Regions from separate parts of the Homo sapiens genome. Here region 2 is linked to region 1. The links are contacts of gene promoters, found by promoter capture Hi-C in human tissues and cell types (Jung and others, 2019). All regions are on one chromosome and are shown on one strand. Each heading gives the region's core, a stretch centred on a gene start or on the middle of the fragment in contact. The rest is flanking DNA. Distances are from core to core; before and after follow the strand shown.

Region 1 (3,910 bases), core at 787-3,286:
ATAAAAAAAAAAAAAAAAAAGGAAAGGGAAGTAGAAGGGAACTGCCAAGCAGATGTTGAAGCCAAAAGAGCCACAAGACAGGACCCTCCATTAGAAATGCTTATAGAAGGACCCCTAGTGTGGGGTAACCCCCTCCAGGAAACCAAGCCCCAGTACTCAGCAGAAGAAATAGAATGGAGAACCTCAAGAGGACATACTTTCCTCCCCTCAGGATGGCTAGCCACCAAAGAAGAAAAAATACTTTTGCCTGCAGCTAACCAATTGAAATTACTTAAAACCCTTTACCAAACCTTTCACTTAGGCATTGATAGCAACTATCAGATGGCTAAATTATTATTTACTGGACCAGGCCTTTTCAAAACTATCAAATAGATAGTCAGGGCCTGTAAAGTGTGCCAAAGAAATAATCCCCTGCACTGCAGGCCATACATTTCAATCCCTGTATCTTTAACCTCCTTGTTAAGTTTGTCTTTTCCAGAATCAAAGCTGTAAAACTACAAATCATTCTTCAAATGGAGCCACAGATGCCGTCCATGACTAAGAGCTACCGTGGACCATTGGACCGGCCTGCTAGCCCATGCTCCAATGTTAATGACATCGAAGGCACCCCTCCTGAGGAAATCTCAACTGCACAACCCCTACTATGCCCCAATTCAGGAGGAAGCAGTTAGAGCGGTCGTCGGCCAACCTCCCCAACAGCACTTGGGTTTTCCTGTTGAGAGGGGGTACTGAGAGACAGGGCTAGCTGGATTTCCTAGGCCGACTAAGAATCCCTAAGCCTAGCTGGGAAGGTGACCGCATCCACCTTTAAACACGGGGCTTGCAACTTAGCTCACATGTGACCAATCAGGTAGGAAAGAGAGCTCACTAAAATGGTAATTAGGCAAAAACAGGAGGTAAAGAAATAGCCAATCATCTATTGCCTGAGAGCACAGCAGGAGGGACAATGATTGGGATATAAACCCAGGCATTCGAGCCGGCAACGGCTAACCTCTTTGGGTCCCCTCCCTTTGTATGGGAGCTCCATTTTCACTCTATTAAATCTTGCAACTGCAAAAAAAAAAAAAAAAAGAAAAAGAACTCCAAGTCTAATAAGACCAGAGACCTGCCCTTTATGGGTCTGCAGACTATTGCAGATAAACAAATAATTGGAACATGACATAGTGTGACCATCAACAAAAATATGTACAAATACAGTGATGGTGCGAAGAAGAGAGTTTGCAGCTCTGTTTAGTTGGGTCAGGGAAACTTTCACTTATATAGAGATGATTGAACTTGGTTTTGAAGGAAAACCAGGAGTTCACTAGCACCAATTATATGGAGGGGATGGGGAGTGTAATATAATCTGTAAGGAGGGATTTAAATGTGAAAAGAAACAGATTAAGGAAGTAAAAGTTCAGGAAGGTGTACCCACTAGTTTGGGAGAAACATAGATGGTTCCATAAAATGTCCCAAGAGAGGAGAGCAGAGACCAGTTTATAATAAGTTGAGTGCTGTGCTAAGGAGATTTGATCTTTTGAAAACTTTCAGTTGTTGAATTTTGCTCTACTAGATGGACAAGTCTTTATGGGAAACTCTCAAATAATATCAATTTATCTAGCCAAACCTAAAAGCAATCTTACTCCTAGAATGACTATCTGGAAGCTTTATACATTAAAAAAATTATTGTTGAATATGCTTCTGTGTCGACTAATGACTTAATTTATCTTCCAAACTGGGTTAGTTTTGTTAGAGGCAGCAGTAGCCGGATGGAACATTGGAACAATAGGAATAAGACAGGATTATCCCACACAACCCAAGGCCCACGACCAACCAACCTTGACCCAAATGGGTTGGAAGCTCAGACGGAAAGTCATAGTTCCTGCTCTCTAGGGGCGCATATCCTGAGGAAGGGGGAGGAGGGATGATATGGTGGAACATTCTGGGACTGTGAGCTCCATATTTGGGGATGTAGGTGTGTGTGTTACGGGGGTGGACTTGGAATTCCTCTCTGTCTGTGTGGGTTAAAATGAGAGCTCCGAGCGCTGATAGCTCTCAAAACTCTGGATCATCTTTAAAGACCTGTGGCACACAGACCACTGGACAAAGTTCTGCTGCCTCTTTCTCTTGGGAAGTCTGTAAATATGAAGCTGTTTCTGGTTCTCATTATTCTGCTGTTTGAGGTACTCACAGGTAACTTGTCCAAATGTACTATAACATCCTAAGAGATATTACTATTTGTAAGAGTGGGAACAGGACTTTCAAGATTATTTATATTTGGCCAAAATCATAAAAAAGTACCCATTCTCCTGGTTGCCTGACTTGAGTCTATGCCTTAGAAGAGAGGCACCCAAGGAGGTAAGAGGAGGTCAGGGCTATAGTGGACTCTCAGGAGTCCTTTTCAAAAGTATCCATGAACTCATCATCTAGAATTATCTTTATAATGCTGGACACAGTTTTCACCTGAGAGCCTGGCCATTCCCTTTTCCATTCAAATTCATTTTCAGCCTGTACTACAACAGTAATTAAAATAGCACACATTTTGGAGTCATGTCAATGTGAGGTTAAAATATGTCTTCATCATTGACGGGTTGTATGAATTAAGCACATTATTTCCTTTTAATCTCAATTTTCTCATCTGTGAAGGAGTATAATTACTATATTTCATGATTCTATTTGATGTACAGGTTACATGAACTTACAAGCACGAAGCACAAAGTTCATCGTAGAAGCCCTGTCAGTGAGAGTTACCTTCTCTCTTGCTAGGAAGAAGGCATATTGTATTTTTATGGCCCCAAAATATACTCCTCTAACCCTCAAAGATGTTCCCTGATTCTGAAGTTTAGGATAGGGAGAGTATGTCTCTCTTCTCCAACCTTATTCTTTGGGCTTGTTCAAATTTTGGGTAGAGGGGCAAATAAGGATTAGAAACAAGAGACTTAGAATTTCAGTGCATTACTCTGAGAAGGTGACAATGTAGCTCTCTAGAGCCAAATTCATGGAATTGAATTTGATCCCTGGGCAACACATTTATCTGAGATCAAGGGGAGTGTGATGAGTGACAGACAGGAGGAGCCAGGTTAAGGGAAGGAGTTCTCAATAGCACCTGTTGCTGAGACCCATGAGATCTTGTCAAAGGGAGATTTCTGTTGCCCATATCAGTGAGTGTGAAACCGAATTAAGTTAAAAAGTCTTGTTTGTGATGTTCTTTCAAAAGTTGCTTTGGCTGAGTTGTGCCAATGGTGACATGTCTTGTGCACATGGTGACATGTTAGCCGTCTCTGGGGACATGAGACTGAGATGGAGCTGAGAGAGTGCTGACTTTGGAGCTTGGTGGAGAGAGTCAGCTTTGCCATGGTCCTAGGGGTGGGACTTGGCTCTGGTTGATAACCAGGAATTGAGTTCTCTCTTCTCTTTTGTCATATCAGTTCTAATGTTCTCAGAGGCAACTGGACATTGGCTGAGAGCCTGGGCTTTTGAATGTCCTTAATTTGGGATATTTTTCAAGGAGGGGCCTCTGAGTTTCCTTTTATCAGCATAATGTTCACTTGGGACCATAGGAGGCCATGACTTGTGGGGAACCACATACCTACCTCTTCTGCTCTTCCTTACGCACTAACCTTGGTTCAATGTTGTTTCCTATGCACAGACGGGGCAAGACTCAAAAAATGCTTCAATAAAGTAACAGGCTATTGCAGGAAGAAATGCAAGGTAGGAGAAAGATATGAAATAGGATGTCTAAGTGGGAAATTATGTTGTGCTAATGATGAAGAAGAGAAAAAACATGTGTCATTTAAGAAGCCACATCAACATTCTGGTGAGAAGCTGAGTGTGCTGCAGGATTACATCATCTTACCCACCATCACCATTTTCACAGTCTAATCCTAAATCTAGCCCTTGTCTCGCTGGTCTCCACTCTTCCTAAATAAAA
Region 2 (3,473 bases), core at 397-2,896, 51 kb before region 1:
AAATTTTCTTTCTTTTTAAAAATAGATATATTTAATTCTTTTTTCCATGTCCCCTCCCCTCTATCATTTCTTTCTCAATATGGAAGATTCCAGGGTACTCAAGGTCACTGAAGCCAGAAACAAGAGAGAAACAAAAGCCAGAGGCAAGAACTTCATGCTTGAAGGATCAGAACGTGCCTTAAGAGAAGTAGCTGGGTAGATTGGATGGGGACAGAGCTACCTGTGTCACTTGTCTGGAGCTACATTTATTGGCCTTAGATGAGATCAAAAGTTGGGCAGTGAGCCAGGGATGAAGTAGAAATCTCTGCTATTAGGGTGAATAGATTTTGTTACTCTAAGTGGTTATTGCTTAAATTGACTGAGCACTCACAGAATGCACAGAAAATTAGCACCAGTCTTTGGAAATGCATTTTCTAGCTACTGCTGGCATGGGTGAGGCAACATAAGAAAAACTGTGTACTGTTCCTGGGAGGGCAATTTGTCAATATATAGCCCATGTCTAAAACAAAATTAAATGAAACTCTGCTTGCCCTTTGACCCAAAATAATGCACATAGCATAAAAGAATATGTTCATGAAGGTGCAAGAACTATATTGCCTTCTTAGCATTACTCATAGTGAGAATGTGAAAAGTAAGCTAAATGTCTATCAATAGAGAATCTGCTAATTTATGGCACTTAACACATTAGAATTCCATTTAAACAATGATGATAATTGAGGACTATCCTTATTATATAAAAGACTGTCAGTGATATCTTAGGTAGAAAAGAAAAATGACAGGAAAGCGTGGGTAGTATAAGCTAGTCTTTGTTATATATGTATACATGTAAAATATATATACATATAATTTGTGTATTCTCTGGAAGGATATATACAAAAATTTAATGGTCTTTCTCTTTGGGAAAGATTTTGTTATTCTTATTTTATCTTCCATAAAGTTTTCTGTTTTGTCTGAGTGTTCAAAATGACTATAAGTAACCTCATAATCAGAAAAAGTTAATTAAGCTATTTCCATGTATGGAAAATATCTTTTCTGAAAAGTTTTGAGATGAGTATATTCATATAGAAATATTGGCTTTCTTTCCTGATTAATACAAAAGATTGATTGGCTTGCCAAATCAGAATCAGGGGAATCAGAGATCTTTCCCAGCATTAAGCTTTAGTAATAATTTCAAGGATACGGGTAATTACGAAGCAGGTAAAAATGCAAAAGTCTGGGATGTCCACACCACTTCCCAGGTCCTTTCTTGCCTCATGAAAATAAGCCATGGGATAGGTTTAACATGAAAGATCTCTAAGTGATGTCTGTGATGCATGGGTGCCCATCAGCTACCCAAAGGGGCTATTTTAGCTAGAAACATCTCCATTTTATTCTCTGGCAATTACTTAGCATTACAAACACATGACATTTTTCAAGGAGCCATGCCCTGTAAATTCATAGACTCTAAGTTTGTTTACCAGAAGCAATTGAGGACTGAGCAGATGCATTCTGCTACATAAAGACCCCTCTGCTAGTGAATATCATTAGCATATTTACCAGAAGGTCTCTTATTAGCATGTTATAAGGAGATCTGACAGAGTCAGAGTCAAGTTTTTTTTTTTTTTTTTTCTTTCCTGCCAGAAGTATCTCCTGTTAAAGGGAGAGAATTGATTTCAGGACTACTGTTAACTCTTTCCTTCTCATCTCTTAAAATGCAAAGGTATTCCCAATGAATTTCTGACTTATATGTGTGTGTTTCTTAATGGAATTTTTTTTAGGACTTTCATTATCATAGCTTTTGTATCTGTGCTCTAATTCTAATTTCTTTTACAGTGTGGGAGCCAAAAATAAAGGCAATAATCTAAGTGTGAACTTTTCAGGCCGCTTACATTTGGCAATTGCAGGAGCTGTCCAAATCCTTCAGGATTAGGAAATCCTTTAGAATAGGGATATTCACCACTCCTCCTTATACTGGGTCACCAGTAATATCGAGACTTCTATAGCTTCTTCCAAACTTTTTTTTTTTTTTTTGAGACGAAGTCTCACTCTGTCACCCAGGCTGGAGTGCAGTGGCGTGATCTTGGCTCACTGCAACCTCTGCTTCTCAGGTTCAAGCAATTCTCCTGCCTCAGCCTCCTGAGTAGCTGGGATTACAGGTGCATGCCACCATGCCTGGCTAATTTTTTGTATTTTTAGTAGAGATGGGGTTTCACCATGTTAGCCAGGATGGTCTCGATCTCCTGACCTCGTGATCTGCCTGCCTAGGCCTCCCAAAGTGCTGGGATTACAGGTGTGAGCCGCCACGCCTGGCCTCTTCCAAACCATTTCTAAGAGTATGAAATAAGCTTATCCATGTAGATCCTTTATGATATAACTGGCATTAGGTACATGCACCAAAGCTGTTGCCAGTGAGAGTCAAGGAAGCATAGCACTTAAGCGTAGGGTCTCTGATATGATGAGACATGGGTTCCAATCCTGATTCTACTGCTTATCTGTGAACTTCAGCAACTTAAGTTAAACTTTCAGTTGTATTATTTATATAAAGTCTATGGGGTTGTTTTAAGGACTAAATGAGATAATATACTCAAGGTTCCCAGTACTGTATCTGGCTCTTAAAAATGCCCTGTAACTCAAATATTTGCATTATTAATATTGGTTTTTTTTTGTTGTTGTTTTTGACAGAGTCTCGTTTTGTCTCCCAGGCTGGAGTGCAGTGGCGTGATCTCGGCTCACTGTAACTTCCACCTCCCAGGTTCAAATGATTCACCTGCCTCAGCCTCCTGGGTAGCTGGGACTACAGGCGCATGCCACCGCACCTGGTCTGCTTTTCTATACATCTTCCTCCAGGTTGCTATTCTTTCCTTAATCCTCTTTGGCATTGTCATGGAGCACTTATTAACTCATTGGGCTGCCTTTGAATCAAAACTCTGTTTATTGATCTTGTTCAGCAGGATCAATTTTCAGGTTCACTGAGAGCATCAGTGATTAAGCCGTAAAGATGTGGAACCCATGGTTATAAGAGGTTCTTCGTTATGGATGCGTGGTCTCTCTAGAGACAAGGTGATCTGACTGTTACGTGGGGCATAATCATGTGGTAGTTTTTAGGGCTGTGCTGAAACACTGAAATCCAGAAGAGACTATAGAGAGCTGAAAGCACGGTGCATCCCATTCCCTCTCTTTGCTCAGACCCACACAACAGAGAGGAAACAGTAGCCAACAGTATCTATGATAACTAGTCGTGTGCTTTTTCTTTTTTTTTTTCTTTTGAGATGGAGTCTAGCTCTGTCACCCAGGCTAGAGTGCAGTGGTGTGATCTCAGCTCACTGCAACCTCCGCCTCCCATGTTCAAGCGATTCTCCTGCCTCAACCTCCTGAGTAGCTGGGACTACAGGTGCGCACCACCACACCTAGCTAATTTTTGTATTTTTAGTAGAGACGGGGGTCTCACCATGTTGGCCAGGCTGGTCTTGAACTCCTGACCTTGTGTTCCACCC

Evidence for each region. The method cuts DNA at HindIII sites, captures the fragments that hold promoters and counts their contacts. A contact is called where the count stands out against the background at its distance.
Region 2: a fragment that was not itself captured here is called in contact with the fragment with the promoter of DEFB128 in region 1 in 3 of the 25 tissues and cell types used here (heart right ventricle, mesendoderm cells and thymus).

Annotation. Positions count from the first base shown.
Region 1 is chr20:187,837-191,746 of GRCh38, reverse strand. It overlaps DEFB128 (defensin beta 128), which reads left to right and starts at 2,036. Exons shown (of 2, transcript NM_001037732.3): 1 at 2,036-2,172; 2 at 3,629-3,894. The coding sequence starts at 2,124. The coding sequence ends at 3,861. The HindIII fragment of the contact is 16,618 bases long and covers 405-3,910 here.
Region 2 is chr20:238,613-242,085 of GRCh38, reverse strand. No RefSeq gene overlaps it. Among named protein-coding and RNA genes, the nearest start is that of DEFB129, 13 kb to the right of the region's middle. The HindIII fragment of the contact is 4,422 bases long and covers 1-3,473 here.